Linked DNA regions of Homo sapiens: region 2 is linked to region 1. Evidence: promoter capture Hi-C in human tissues and cell types (Jung and others, 2019). All regions are on one chromosome and are shown on one strand. Each heading gives the region's core, a stretch centred on a gene start or on the middle of the fragment in contact. The rest is flanking DNA. Distances are from core to core; before and after follow the strand shown.

The links. The method cuts DNA at HindIII sites, captures the fragments that hold promoters and counts their contacts. A contact is called where the count stands out against the background at its distance.
Region 2: a fragment that was not itself captured here is called in contact with the fragment with the promoter of TMEM171 in region 1 in 2 of the 25 tissues and cell types used here (mesenchymal stem cells and spleen).

The regions. Positions count from the first base shown.
Region 1 is chr5:73,114,440-73,121,927 of GRCh38, reverse strand. TMEM171 (transmembrane protein 171) reads right to left here and starts at 1,353. Exons shown (of 4, transcript NM_173490.8): 1 at 1,232-1,353. LOC124901001 reads left to right here and starts at 1,437. Exons shown (of 2, transcript XM_047417978.1): 1 at 1,437-7,341. The coding sequence starts at 1,499. The coding sequence ends at 2,200. RefSeq lists an enhancer at 1,963-2,514. The HindIII fragment of the contact is 7,583 bases long and covers 1-6,353 here.
Region 2 is chr5:72,926,297-72,933,214 of GRCh38, reverse strand. No RefSeq gene overlaps it. Among named protein-coding and RNA genes, the nearest start is that of FCHO2-DT, 26 kb to the left of the region's middle. The HindIII fragment of the contact is 3,971 bases long and covers 937-4,907 here.

The DNA of each region.
Region 1 (7,488 bases), core at 104-2,603:
TTGCAAAGACAATCCAAAATCGTGAAGACTATTTTCACCTGCCCAAGGAAAGAAAACTTTTAAAATATTTTGTGCCGCTCACATCCATGGTCCCATGAAGGAACTCAAGACTGAGGCCCTAAGCCCAAGATGATCTTGACAAACCAAAATCACACTGAGGGAAGGTCAGTTTAGGTAAAGAAAGCAAACAGGCAATCTTACACTGGGAAAAACTTTTCCAGGAAAAAGTATGATAGAATCAGAAGGAAGTTGGAGAAAAAAAGGAAATATAGGAGGGAAAAAAGCTTTCATTTCAAACTTGGAAAAACTTGATATACAGATGCAGTTAAGCTGAGACAAAGCATTGCACTAATTTTTTAATCTTCCCATTTTTTATTAAGTCAGTAACATCCTGCAGTGAATAAGAATTTCATATTGAGTATACAGTAGTCCTCATTTATCCTACAGGGAGTACATTCCAAAACTCTCAGTGGAATGAAACGATGGAGAGTCCTGAAACCTATATATATTGGTTTTTTGTTATTGTTGTTGTTTTAATTTTTTTCCTGAATCATGCAATCTCTTTTGCGGTTTCGGAGACAAGAAAGAGAAGGGTGATTCTCGGCTGCAAAGTCCTATCAGGAATTCATTTATTCCCAGTATAGTCAACTTTGCAGTGAGTCACAAGGCTTCAACTGTCTTAAGGCAAATTCCCAAACACCAGTAAATAGAAGCCCAAAACTGAATCTGTAGTTTCTTGTCCGTGGACTAGTGGACGGAGCACCTGGCTGAGTGTTCACCTCTGATCCATAATAGTGTGGAAATACTCTCTCTCTCTCCTTCTCCCACAGATGCACTCACAAACGGATACAAAGACACCCACATTCACTCGCAATGAAACCTTTTCCAAACACCACCCTACACTTAAACTCCCCAAAGCCAAACTCCCCTCTCCAACACTCCTATTGGTTTTCCAAAAGACATTTCCAAAATTCACAGCACCTCTCCACGTCCAAAGCTATGGTGCGTTTGGGGAACGAAACGAGAGGCAAATGCCTTCTGTGCGAAATCGGTTTGCGGCTTTTAGGGAGCCCGAGCGCAAGCAACAGCCGGAGGGGCTCGCAGGGACGCAGGTTGGGCTCGGATACCCAGCGCCTCCGCGCTGCCGCGGCTCCCCGCGCCCAGCCTGGCCGCACAGCTCAGCGCCCGACCCGCCGCCGCCGGCGCAGGCGCGCGGGCCGGGGCAGCTTACCTGAAGCTGGGTCCGGCGCCTGGCTGACCGCGCTGCTGTGGGCACTGGCTGGGCGCGGCGTCCGCCTCCGCACGCGGCCTCGGCTGCGCCGGCCGCCCTGCACCCTACCCACCGCGCGTCCTGGTGCGGAGGGCGGACCCGGCAGTATTTAGAGAAGGAGGCGGTGCTGCGCGGGCGCGGCGGCCCGGGGAGGGCAGGGCAGGGCAGTGCAGGAGCGACCGGTGGGAGCTGGCCGCCACTGGGGGCCCGGGGCGCGCCCGCGAGGGAATGGAGAGCCAGGGGCGGCTTCGGAACCCAGGGCTGGCGGGTTTGGCAGCCTCCGCGCTCGTGGCCGTGCGCGCGAGGAATCTGGGAGAAATGGGCACCTTCCACGGCTGCCTGGCCCGCACACCTGGCGGGGCCGGCGAGTTGAGATGCCCCCGCCGGCTGGCGGAACTGTGCGCCCCGCCCGCCGAGGCCCGCTCCCCCTCGAGGCCTGAGGCCCAGTTCTATAGGGGCGCGAGAGAGCGGCGGCGTGGGGGGCGCGGAGGAAGCGCCGGCCCCCGCCTCCACCGCCTCCTTCGTGGTTGCGGCCCAGGCCGAACAGGGTACCGTGCCCCGGCCGCCTTGGCCTTGGCCACCGCGAGGTCCGGGGCGACTACACCCAGCAGCCCTGTGGCCCTCCTACTGCTCTGGAGACCTGGAGTGGGGTTACAGAGGGAAGCGACTCGCTGCGAGCTCCCCATCGAATATGGAGCCACCAGGTCACGGGACGACGTGCGCTCTACAGAATGTGAGACAAGGGCCCTCCACACCCAGCCATTCAGGCCTGAGGTCCTGGCTCCGAGACTGAGGCCGAGACGCGGCAAGCCCCGCGCCGGACCAGCTCTGCCCCTCCCGCACCCACGTGTCTGCGCACAGCCCTCCTTTGCGATAGAACCCCCTTCCTGGTTCTCCACCACTAATGATCTGCCGGAATTAAACTGGTAACTTTCCCTGCCCTTGAACCGGGAGTTTCGGGATGAGTTTGCCAATCCCTGTGCTATTTGTAACCAGCCCCGTGACACGTGATACGGATCCAACTGTGCTAGTTTCCACACCAGGGGTCAGGGCACGGTGGAAGGTGAGTCAAGGGTTCTCTGCCCAAGCGCAGAGGTGCCCTGAGCCACGGGGACTTCCCAGCCCTGCCTTCTCTTCTCAGCTTCCTGTCTGCCTTGCCTGAAACCCTATCTAGAGTTAAGGCCAATGGATGAAACTTTTCAATGTGCAAGCAAGCACTTTACCTACCTGATACAACAAGAGATTCCTGGTCATGCTCACTGAAGGTAAAGTATGAAGCAGGCTTAGCTAATCATCAGAGGTGAGAAGAGACTTAAAGAACCAGTCAGAGAGGTAAAGAGGGGAGGGGGTTACCTGGGCTTTAGGGTTCACCAGGGAGGCAGAACGGACAAGTTCTTGCCATTGGAATTTGGTGGGGCACTTGCCTGGGTGGCCAAAGGTGGACTTTTTCATAGCCAGGGTGCCCGACCTCTGTAAATCCCCGCCATAACTAACAGCCCTGATTACTGTCGAAATGAACAATGCCAACACTCACGACCCCTTGCTTTGTGGTTCTTTGCTACATCTCTCCAGCAGTTCAGAAAAGGTTGGAGGCAGCAGGGGACAGGAGACTGAGAAAAACAGTCATTTGTCAGTTGAGGAAACTGAGGTCCAGGCTGACAGAGGTAAAGTAACCTCTGCAGCTGGTTGACATGCAGAGAAGGCCTGAGCCAGATGCAGATGCGCTGACCATTCAGTGTTTCTCCCGCAGCACACCTGTCACTCAGAGAACACACCATGCTGTGAACCCAGAAAACGCCCTCATGGCCTTGTGATGCCAAGCACGTTTAGATTATTATAACAATACAGGCACTGTGTCCCAAGGACATTGCAGTAATCTATGTTTGGGGTGGAGATATCCTTCCTGGTCCAAGTGTCAAGGTATACCACCTTCTGGAAGGGCACCAAAGCATGTCCAGCGAATGGGCAGATACCCAAGAGTGGATTGTACAACAGCAGGCACTGGCTTTCTAAGAACTCAGGCCCTCATTATAGGATTTGTCCCCTCTGACACAGGCCTGTGAACAACTCTTCATTGTGCAAAAGGGTTTCCTTGTCCTTTCCCTACTCATTCTTCCCTTCCCCCTTATTTGAAACTGAATCTCTGGCCATGTCATGTGCAGGCCTGCAAGGGGCCTGTTGATACAGCTGCCCCTCTGGTGCCACATGACTGCAGGCTCACCACCCATGACAGACTTGAATATCCTGGCACCAAGGACAATCAGATTAGCCTCCACTTGGTATATCTGCTGTTCTCACTGTTTGTGTCTATGAGAGCCTGTTTGACTAAATTAAACTCCTTGGAAATTGATCATCGATTATGTATGAAAGACATACCCACCAGCCTTTGAGGTACTTATCTTTGTAGCCCACCTAGCCTTAGGAGAGAAGCTGCGTGGCCTGGTCACTATCTAGTGGTCTTCCCTGGCCTGTGTGGTAGTGAAAAAGATAAAAGCCAGACCGAATCCTTAGAAAAACAGCATCAGAACAAGATTAAAAACCTCGAATTCAGTGACTGTAGAAGCATAAAGCAGAGGCATGTGTTCATGTATTTAGCCAGCACAGATTTACCAACTACCAATAAAACACGGAACTTGTATTTTATTGAGGAGAAAGGCAATAAAATATGTAAGTTATACAGAGAATTAGAAAGTGATTGAGTGCCAGGGAGAACAATAAATCACAGATGGGGACTGGGGAGCACCCCATTTTAAATAGGGGAGTTAAGGAAGGCATCTCTGAGAAGGTGAGATTGCAGCAAAAACTTGAAGGGAATGAGGAAGCAAGTGTATCAATGATCTATTATTGCATAACAACTTACCCCAAAACTTTGAAGTTTGAAACAGCAAAAATGTATTCTCAGGGTTTCTGATCAGGGTCAGAAACTGCAAGTGGCTTAGCTGGGTACTTCTGGCTGAGCCTCTCAGAGGCTGCAGTCTAGCAGTTGGCCAGGGCTGTGGTCATCTGAAGGCTGGACTGGGGCTGGAGGATCTGCTGCCAAGGTGGCACATTCACAGGGCTATTGGCAGGAGGCCTCAGTTCCTCACTATGTGGATTTCTCCACCCAGCCTCCCCTCACGTGAGTGATCCAAGGGAGAGCAAACAAAGGGGAAGCTGTGGTGCCTTTTCTGACGAGGCTCTGCACTTCCATACCATCACTTCTCTTTATTCTGGTCCTTAGAATTGAGTCACAAAGTCAAGGGGAATGGGATTAGGTGCCACCTCTTGTAGGGAAGAGTAAGAATTTGTAAGCATAGTTCGTGATTTTTTGTGGGAAGTAGGGAAGAGTGCTTCAGGCAGAAGTAACCACAGGTGCAAAGGCCCTGAGGTAGGAACACACATATTAGCATATTCAAAGGAGAGCAAGAGGCCAGGGTGGCTGCAGTTGGTGAGCAAGGGGGAGAGTAGGAGAGGAGGTCAGAGAGGAAAGGCATGTGCAGGGCCAAGGGCACCAGGTTGTGCAGGGCCTTTAAGTAGGTGGGAAGCCTTTGAATGGTTTTTGAGCTGATGTGATGAGCTTTGACAGTGATGTGATCTGATTTCTTTTAAAAAAGAAATTGGTGGCTGTTGCAGTAAGAATAGCCCAAGGAGGAGCCAGGATGGATGGGAAGAGGCCAGTTAGGAGGCTGTGGTAACAACCCAGGAGTTATGTCTGTAGCTTGTGTATGAAGGTGATGAAAGGGATGAGACTTTGGATATATCTTGAAGATAGAGTCAATGGGATTTTCCATGAACCACATGTGGGTTTTGATTCCAAGGTTTTGGATCTGAGCAAGTGGAAGAATGGTTCTGGCATGAGCAAGATGGGGAATCCTAAGAGTGGGACAAGTTTGAGAGGAGGAGCTTCAGAGTCCATTTGGGGACATGTTAATTTTGTCCATTAGACATCCGAGTAGAGAAGCTGAGTAGGCAATTGAATATGGAGGCTTGGAGTTCAGGAATTCGGAAGGAATACTTTCCTGTGGTCTGTGAGTGACATTACAAAATTGAGGAGGCTGGGCTCCCTCTCTGGAAGAGTAACAATTAGTCCTTTGGAGGGTTCTAAACACACAAAGCAAGGGAGGGGCTGGTGCCAACCAAGTGCAGTTTTCAGATGTTTCTGGGGTGCAGAGCACAGCTAGTGCGGCTGGGAGGCATGAGTTTCACCCAGAGCAGGGGGCTTCTGCTGCTCTGTTCCCAAAACAGTGCCCTAAGGAACACATATCTTTCACTTCAACAAGACAGGCCACGTATTTCTTCCCAGGGCACTGCCAACCCTGAGAAGAAACTCAGGGCAAGTGGATTGACCTGCAGAATTCAGTGGCACCATTTTTCAGAATTCATAAGATGGCAGAAAGACAATCAGCTAATCAAGTCTGCCAACTTCTAGGTCTCTTTTCTCTTTTGGTCTCTTTCTAATTCTGCCCCAAATTAATCTTAGCACCCAGAAGCACACATTTCCCTGCTTCCAATTTCTGATGTTTTCTGAGCCCCAGCTGGGCTTGGTTTATAGGAATTTATTCTTGAGCGCTCAGTCTTGGGTCCATGTTTCAACACATATTTCCAGGACTCCCAATGACTCCTCTGAACCAACCTGGGCCCCATCCAGCTGTATAACCCTGAAAAGGGTGTACCAAAGTCCCTGGGATATTTTCCTCCTCCCTAACCCCCAGGTCGGACTTAGACCCAGGGGCTTCAGAGACATATCAGGAGTGCAAGTAGAGGCTGACTAATTTGGAAAGCTTGAATTAAGGGTTTAGACTGGCTCCCTTAGCTGATCCTAGTGCAAAGGCTAATCTTTTGCAGAGTCATTTTATGGCGTGAGATGGTGCTGTTGATTTTGCACAGTTAATAACAGCTCAGCCTGAGTGCTGCTAGCCTTAGCCAAGGGTGTAGAATGCAAGCAGTTGTTTCAGCGAAAGTAAGAATTTGCTGGGAGCACACTTGGCTTTTCTGAAGAGGCCTCTGCACTGCCAAGGGAGAAAGACCCCCCCTCAACAGTGGCCACAGCATCTGGTCTGTGGCTAGAGGAGACCAACGTGTTGATATTAAGAGTTCTTTGGAAAAGTACTGTCTCTTCACTCATTCACTGCTGACTGGATCCCAAAGAATGCACTGTCTCCCCAGCATGCAGAAAGGGGATGAATCAAACTGAGTTTAGATCCTGGCTTTGTCACTTACCAGCTGTGTGACCTGGGGCAAGTAAACATCTTTTCTGTATCTTAGTGTTCTCATCTGTAATGTGAGAATAACCAGACCTACCTCGAAGGATGTCTTGCTTGAAGAGTAAATATCTGGCACATGGAGAGTGATCAATAAATGGATTTCTCCTTAACTACTACTCGTCTAGCTACACTCATCTCATCTTCCACCTGTGGCTCAGGAAGCTTGAGCTGATGAATCCATGGAGACTGTAAAGAAATAGCAGGGGAGGTCGATCAGGGTGCTCACTGAGAGCAAACTGTGGCTCTGTTGATTTCTGATGCCCAGTTGGCAATGGTTGGAGTTCCCAGCCTGCCAGCTCAGCTGTTTCTCCCTATAGCGCATCTCTCAGTTATTTCTAGGAGTTCTTAAAGGTGTGCATCGCATCATCTCAAAAACCAGCCCGTCCAACTTGTGTTATCTGCCCTGTTGATCTACCTTTGTTTTCCCAAGGTCTGCAGCCTCCAAAGCTTCTGAAATGGGACTTGCTGCTGCTGGTATCTTTAGAGGGGCATGTGGTATCCTGCCAAGGGTGATTCCTTAGCCTGTCAGTGGCCCAGGGCTCAGGATTCTACCTGCCTCACATCTCCTGGATCCATCTGCATGTCTTGGCCCAATCTCCATATCCTCGGTTCTGGCCCCTCCACTACCTGGTTGCCACTGATGATTCCAAGGATTCAGATCAGCTCACAGTGCTCCAAAAATATAGCAAAGTGAAACAAATGTGCAAATAAATGATAAAAACAAAAGAAGAAAAAGAAAGAAAAGACTTATTGTATATCCTACCTCCTTCAAACAGCTTGCTGTGATGTGCATGGTGGTGTGGGAACCTTCTGATGTCATACATACAGGTAACTTACCTAGTTTTGGATCAGGCATGGAAACTTGTCTGAGACACTTGGAGATGACTCCCAAAATGGTCTGACCCAGAAATCCAGAAAGGGGCCATCTGACTGTCCCAGGGTGCTGTACATGGGGAACATGCCACCTGGCTGGGG
Region 2 (6,918 bases), core at 1,673-4,172, 190 kb after region 1:
ATCAAGTCTGAGTTAAAAGTAGGAGTAAACTGCTGTCAAAAGGAAGGAAGATAGAAAGAAGGTTGATGTGATTAGGATTTTTGTCCAGGCAGGAGCTACAGTATATAGTCCTATCGCAAAGAGTATGGTTAAAGCTGTTTTCACTTATCTTTTTTAAGGAGGAAGGGGTTTTTCCTCAGGATCAGTGGTAGGAGCCTTTTTAGTCTGGGATGTTTCCTTCTAAAATAGGAGATGCAAATCCTCCAATGGTTCGCAGGTGTATCGAGGCTGGTCTGGCTGATCTTGGGACTCCTAAGCTGATAGTCCTGCAGGTTCCTCAGGGGGTGTTCAAAGTTTAACTTGGGTGTGGTGAATCCAAGATTCCACTCCTGCCACCTTAAGTGCAGTGAGTAGAGAGGATTAGCAAGTGTGGTCCTTCCCACAAAGAGTCCATAGATGGGGAGGTAGAGGGGAGAGATTTGACCAACACTAGATCTCCTAGTTGAAACAACTCTGTTCCCTTTTCTCTGTGACATCCTGCAGGTAGGTTTTTAAGGTTTTGTTGATATTTTGCCAAAGAAGCTATATCTTTGATCAAGTTGGCCATTTCCTGATCAAGTAGGAGGTCATTTGTGAGAAAAGGTCGTCCATACCGCATTTCATATGGACTGAGCCCTATTTTGTGGGGAGAATTTCAGATTCCCAACAGGGCCATGGGCAAAAGAGTAGGCCATGGGCGATGAGTTTCTTGTGTTAGTTTCCTTAAGTGCCTCTTGAGTGTTTCATTTGCCTTCTCGACCTTTCCTGAGGATTGTGGCCTCCAGGAGCAGTGAAGGTGATATTGTATCCCTAGCACCCTGGAAATTCCCTGAGTTATCGTGGCTTTAAAAGCTGGACCATTGTCACTCTGTAAGCTTTGGGGAAGCCCAAATCTAGGAATTATTTCATGAATTAGGACTTTAGTCACTTCCTGAGCCTTCTCTGTCTTGCAGGGGAAAGCTTCTATCCAATTTGTAAAGGTATCAACACAGACCAACAAGTATTGAAATCCCTTTGACTTAGGCATATGGGTGAAGTCTAACTGCCAGTCCTCTCCAGGATAGTGACCTATTCTTTGCTCCCCCAAAGGGGCCTTATGATGGACCAAGGGATTATTCCTTTGGCACATCTCACAGGCTTTGACTACTTGTTGGATGGTTTGGAGGAGATTTGGCCCTGTTAATAGGGATTTGGCCATTTGATGAGTGTTTTCAATACCCATATGAAAAGTTTGGTGGAGGGTTTTAAGTATTTTCCACTGGCTGGCTTCGGGTATAAGTACCTTTCCTTCTTCTGTCGCCAACCACCCTGAGGGGAGAAAACTATGCCCCCATGAAAGTCACCACTCTGCTTCAGTTGGGGAATACTGGGGCTTAATCTCTTGGAGGGGGTTGTTCCATACCGAGGGTCCTTCCGTAGGTATTTCTAGTGGGAGGTTCTGCCTGGCAGCAATTTTGGCCTCAGCTTCTGCCTGACAGTTTCCTCCTGCCTTTTCTCCTTCACCTTTCTGGTGGCTTTGGCAATGTAAGACTGTCACCTCCTTGGGTTTTTGCACTGTGTGCAATAACTCTATAATTTCCTTGTGGTATTTAATAGGGGTTCCCCCAGAGGTTAGGAATTCCCTTTCTTTCCATATTGCAGCATGGGCATGTAGGATTAGATAAGCATACTTGCTATCTGTATACACATTTATTCTTTTTCCCTTTCCCAGTTCTAAAGCTCGGGTAAATGCCACTAGTTCTGGTAACTGGGCACTGGTCCCTGGGGGAAGAGGCTTACTTTCAAGTATGGTTACATCACTAACTATGGCATAACCGGCCCTTCGTATCCCATTCTCCACAAATGAACTTCCATTGGTATATAGGTTAAAGTCAGGATTAGCTAAGGAGACTTCTAAGAGATCATCTCGGGCAGCATAAGTCTGGACTATAATTTGTTGGCAGCCATGCTCGATTGGATCCCCATCTTTTGGGAGAAAAGTGGCAGGGTTGAGGGCCATGCATGTACATTTTTGAAGCACCAGTCCCTCAAGGAGTAGCACCTGGTATCTAAGTAGGCAGTTGTCTGATAGCCGTAAACTTCCTTTGGCACCTAGTATGCCATTTACATCATGAGTAGTCCAGACAGTGAGATCCTTTCCTTTTATTATTTTGATAGCCTCTGACACTAAGACAGCCACCGCCGCAACTACCCGTAAACAGTGAGGCCAGCCTTTCGCTACTACATCAGTTTCCTTACTTAGGTATGCCACTGGTGTGGGGTTTTCCCACGAGTCTGGGTAAGGACTCCAAGAGCTATCTCTGCTCTCTCTGTGACGTATAAAGATAAGTTTTGTCCTGTGGGAAGGCTTAAGGCTGGAGCTTGTACTAGGGCCTGCTGTTAGGTTTTGAAGGCTGTTTCTGCCTCTGGTTCCCATTCTACTAGATGTGTATTTGTCCTCTGGGTTTCCTTGATTAGAGTATAGAGGGGCCTGGCTTTCTCACTGTATCAGGGGATCCATAGTCAGCAAAAGCCGGTGATTCCAAGGAAGCCCCACAACTGTTTTAATGTCTTCGGGCAAGGATAAGCCAGTATAGGCTGTATTCATTCCTTGCTGAGGGCCTTGGTCCCTCTGGGCCTAGATATTTGACCTGCTGTAGGCAAAGCTGGGCCTTCGACCTAGATACCTTGTACCCTTGATTAGCTAGAAAGTTCAAGAGATCTAGAGTAGCCTGCTGGCATGAGGCTTCTGAACTGGTAGCCAAAAGCAAATCATCCACATACTGAAGGAACAGAGGGCCTGGACTTGAGAAGTGGCCTAGATCTTTGGCCAGTGCCTGACCAAACAGGAGAGGGCTATCCCTGAACCCTTGGGGCAAGACTGTCCACGTAAGTTGGGATGTGTGGTCTGTGGGATCCTCAAAGGCAAAGAGAAACTGGGAGTCAAAGTGCAGGGGAATACAGAAGAAGGCAACCTTGAGGTCCAGCACTGTGAACCATTCTGCTTCCTCTGGTATTTGAGAGAGGAGGGTATAGGAGTTGGGTACAACTGGATATAAAGGAATTACTACCTCATTGATGAGTCTAAGATCTTGCACTAGTCTCCACTGAACATTCGGTTTTTGTACTCCTAGAATTAGGGTGTTGCAGGGACTGCTGCATTTCCTTGCTAAACCTTGAGCTTTTAAATGTTTAACAATATCCTGTAATCCTTTATGAGCTTCAGGCCTTAAGGGATATTGCCTTTAATAAGGAAAAGTGGTGGGGTCTTCTAGCCTGATTTGGACTGGGCAGGCATTTTTTGCCCTTCCAAATTGTCCTTCCAATACCCAGACTTCAGGGTTGATTCCCTCCTCAAGTAGGGGACAACAAATGGGTAACTTGTTCCCCATATTCATGTAGATAATAGCTCCAGCTTTGGCTAATATATCCCTCCCTAATAAGGGTGTGGGACTTTCAGGCATAACAAGAAAGGCATGTGAAAAGAGCAAAGTGTCCCGATTACAACTGAGGAGATGGGAGAAATACCTGGTTACAGGCTGTCCCAGGATTCCTCGGATGGTAATGGACCTTGAGGACAGTCGTCCAGGACAGGAGATTAGCACTGAGAAGGCCGCGCCAGTGTCCAGGAGGAAGTCAATTTCCTGGCCGTCAATGGTTAAATGTACCCGGGGCTCAGTGAGGGTGATGACATGAGCTGGCACTTGCCCCAGGCACCCTCAATCCTGTTGCTGGATCATCTGGTTGGGGGCTTCTGACCCAGAGAACCTTTGTCCTCTGGGGCAGTGCACCTTCCAGTGATTGCCTTGGCATAGCAGACATGGACGAGGGGGCGGCTTGTTTCTCACTGGACAATCTTTTTAAAAGTGTCCTTGCAAACCACACTGGTAACAAGTCCTACTGGGTGATTGGCCTGCTCCACCCTCTGTCCTCTCTGAACCACCAAGGCTTGCTTGTGTGGGGGCCAAGACTAAGGCTGCAGCCTTTTTCTGATCTTGCTTTTCCTTTTGGGCTTGTTCCTCTTGGTCCCTATTATAGAACACTGAGGTTGCCAGGTTTAGTAATGCCTCCAAATTTTGTTCAGGGACCAGGGATTGCTTTTGGAGCTTTCCCCTGATATCTGCAGCTGACTGGGTAATAAACTTATCTTTTAGAATCAATTGACCCTCGAGTGATTTGGGTGACAGGGGAATATATTTCCTTAAGGCCTCCCATAGCTGCTCAAGGAAGGCAGGATTTTCTTCCTTTCCTTGAGTTATGGTGGACATCATTGAATAATTCATGGGCTTTTTCCTAATTCTCCTTAGTCCTTCAAGAACACAGGTCAACAGATATTTATGACTCCAGTCCCCATAATCTGAGTCAAGGTCCCAGTGGGGATCCATACTGGGGACAGCTTGCTGACCAGAAGGGAATTTATCCCTTTCTTCGGCTGTCATTCTATCATTCACTTGACTAAGATACCAAGTATCTTTAAACTCTCGGGCTGCAGCTAAAGCTGCATTCTTTTCATTAAAGGCCAGGGTTTGATCTAACAGTAGCATGACATCTCTCCAAGTGAGATCAAAGGTTTGCCCTAGACCCTGTAGGACATCTATGTACCTATCAGGATCATCTGAAAACTTCCCCAGTCTGCTTTGATCTGCTTTAAATCAGACAGGGAGAAGGGGACATGTACCCGGGTTGGGCCAAATTCCCCTCCCCCTACAGCTTGAAGGGGACATAACCGATAGCCTGGGGGTTTTTGTGGTCCTTTGGAGATTTCTTTGCTTATTTCCTTCTGGGCAGGGAAGATTAGAAGAAGATTATCATTAATAGGAAGGGTAGCTATAGGGATGCTAGGATATGGGGGTAAGCTGAGAGGTCCTCCTGTGGGATGTAAATTGCAAGCTTTGCATAGTTGTGTATTCTCTTTCAATGAAAAGAAAGCTTGGACATAAGGTATTTCACTCGATTTGCCTTCTCTCTTACAGAAAAGGTCAAGCTGCAGAATAGTATTATAATTTATACTTCCCTCAGGTGGCCATTTTTCCCCATCAGAGAGAGAATATTGGGGCCAAGCCATAGTGCAGAAAAAAATGAGCCACCTCTTTTTCAGGGTTTGTGGGTCAAATTGGTCCCAATGGCTTAGGATGCATTTCAAGGGTGAGCCTGTTGATGCCTGTTTCCTATCTGAAAGACAAAACCACCCACGGTTTTGGTTTGTTTTGTTTCTCCCCCTGCCCAAGAACCCACAACAGTCCCTGGACCCTGCTGATCAGAACAGTTGCACTCACCAACGCAGCAGCAGAAACAACCCCTGCCCAAGAACCCGCAAAAGTCCCTGGACTCTGCTGATCGGAATAGTTGCACTCACCAATGTAGCAGCAGAAATGCTAGTTTTCCTCCCAGGCCACAAGGAGGACTGAGGAAGGTCGGATTTAGTGGCCCTTATTGATGCATTCTCGAAAACCTGCACCCTTGCCTGTCCTCCTAGTCCACAAGGAGGACCCAGAAAAATCGGATTTAGTGGCCCCTTACCGACACATTCTCAAAAACCTGTTAGAGTCCTAAGCATTCTCCTATTAGTATTGGGACCTTACCCATGTCCTATAAAGATGTTATGCCCCAAAAATGAAATGGAGGGCCATACCCTGAGGGAGGGAAGAGATTCTCCAGGGTTGGAAGAGTGACACCTTTTGTCCTCACTTATATGAATAGAAAGGACACAATTTCTGAGGCTCCCCATATCCTAGCTTCAGGAATAGCTTTTGTTAGGCCTGCTAGTCTGAGGAGGGATCCTACAATTCCAGGTAGTCCCCACTATGATGGGGCTTTGGGCAAAAATTATGTCTTTCTGATTGGTGAGCCTAGGTGCCTAAAGAAGGGAACAGAGTCCTAGAGTTTATACTAGCAGTCATTCTTATAGGAGAAACTAGAAAAGCACCAGAGACAGGGAGTGATGTTTAGAAGTGGGACTAGCCTCGGAGAAGAGAGGCGAGAGGAGGTTTGTTTGGCAGGCATTAGGACCCAGGGGGCAAGGGTCAGGGTAGATAGAATAGATGGGCGAGTCTCGCTTGGGCGACATGACTTTGAGAGTTCTGCTCATGGCTGCAGGGTCAATCAACTTGTTTTCGGGACCCTGGAGCTGAATGGCTTTCCTCTCTGTCAACCCTTGGCTCAGCCCAGAAGTACAGGAAAAGGAGAAGCTGGTTCCAGGCAAACCAATGCTCCCAACTCTGAAGAGTTGGGGGTTGTTAGCCCTCTCCCAGAAAGCCTGACACCTGTGTCTTTAGTCTGGCGGCCGCACTAGTCACTTTTAACTGGCCGACAGGTGCCCAGTATTTAGCCCCCGAATTCTAAGGAAAAATAGGACAGAATAGCAAGCAAAAGGGGTCCAATGGTTCTCACTGCTTGGTGATAGGCAATAGTCTCACTGCTTGGCAATAGGCAACAGTCTCACTGCTCAGCGATAGGCAATAGTCTCACCACTTGGCGATAGGTGATAGTCCCATCTGGGTCACCAAAATGTGTCTGAAATTGGTCTCGCTGACTTCAAGAATGAAGCTGCAGACGCTTGTGGTGAGTGTTATAGTTCTTAAAGATGGTGTGTCCGGAGTTTGTTCCTTCAGATGTTCAGATGTGTCCAGAGTTTCTTCCTTCTGGTGGGTTCGTGGTCTCGCTGATTCAGGAGTGAAGCTGCAGACCTTTGCGGTGAGTGTTACAGCTCTTAAAGACAGTGCATCTGGAGTTGTTCGTTCCTTCTGGTGGGTTCATGGTCTTGCTGCCTTCAGGAGTGAAGCTGCAGACCCTCACGGTGTTACAGCCCTTAAAGGCAGTGCGGACTCAAAGAATGAGCAGCAGCAAGATTTATTGCGAAGAGCGAAAGAACAAAGTTTCCACAGCGTGGAAGGGGACCTGAGCAGGTTGCCACTGCTGGCT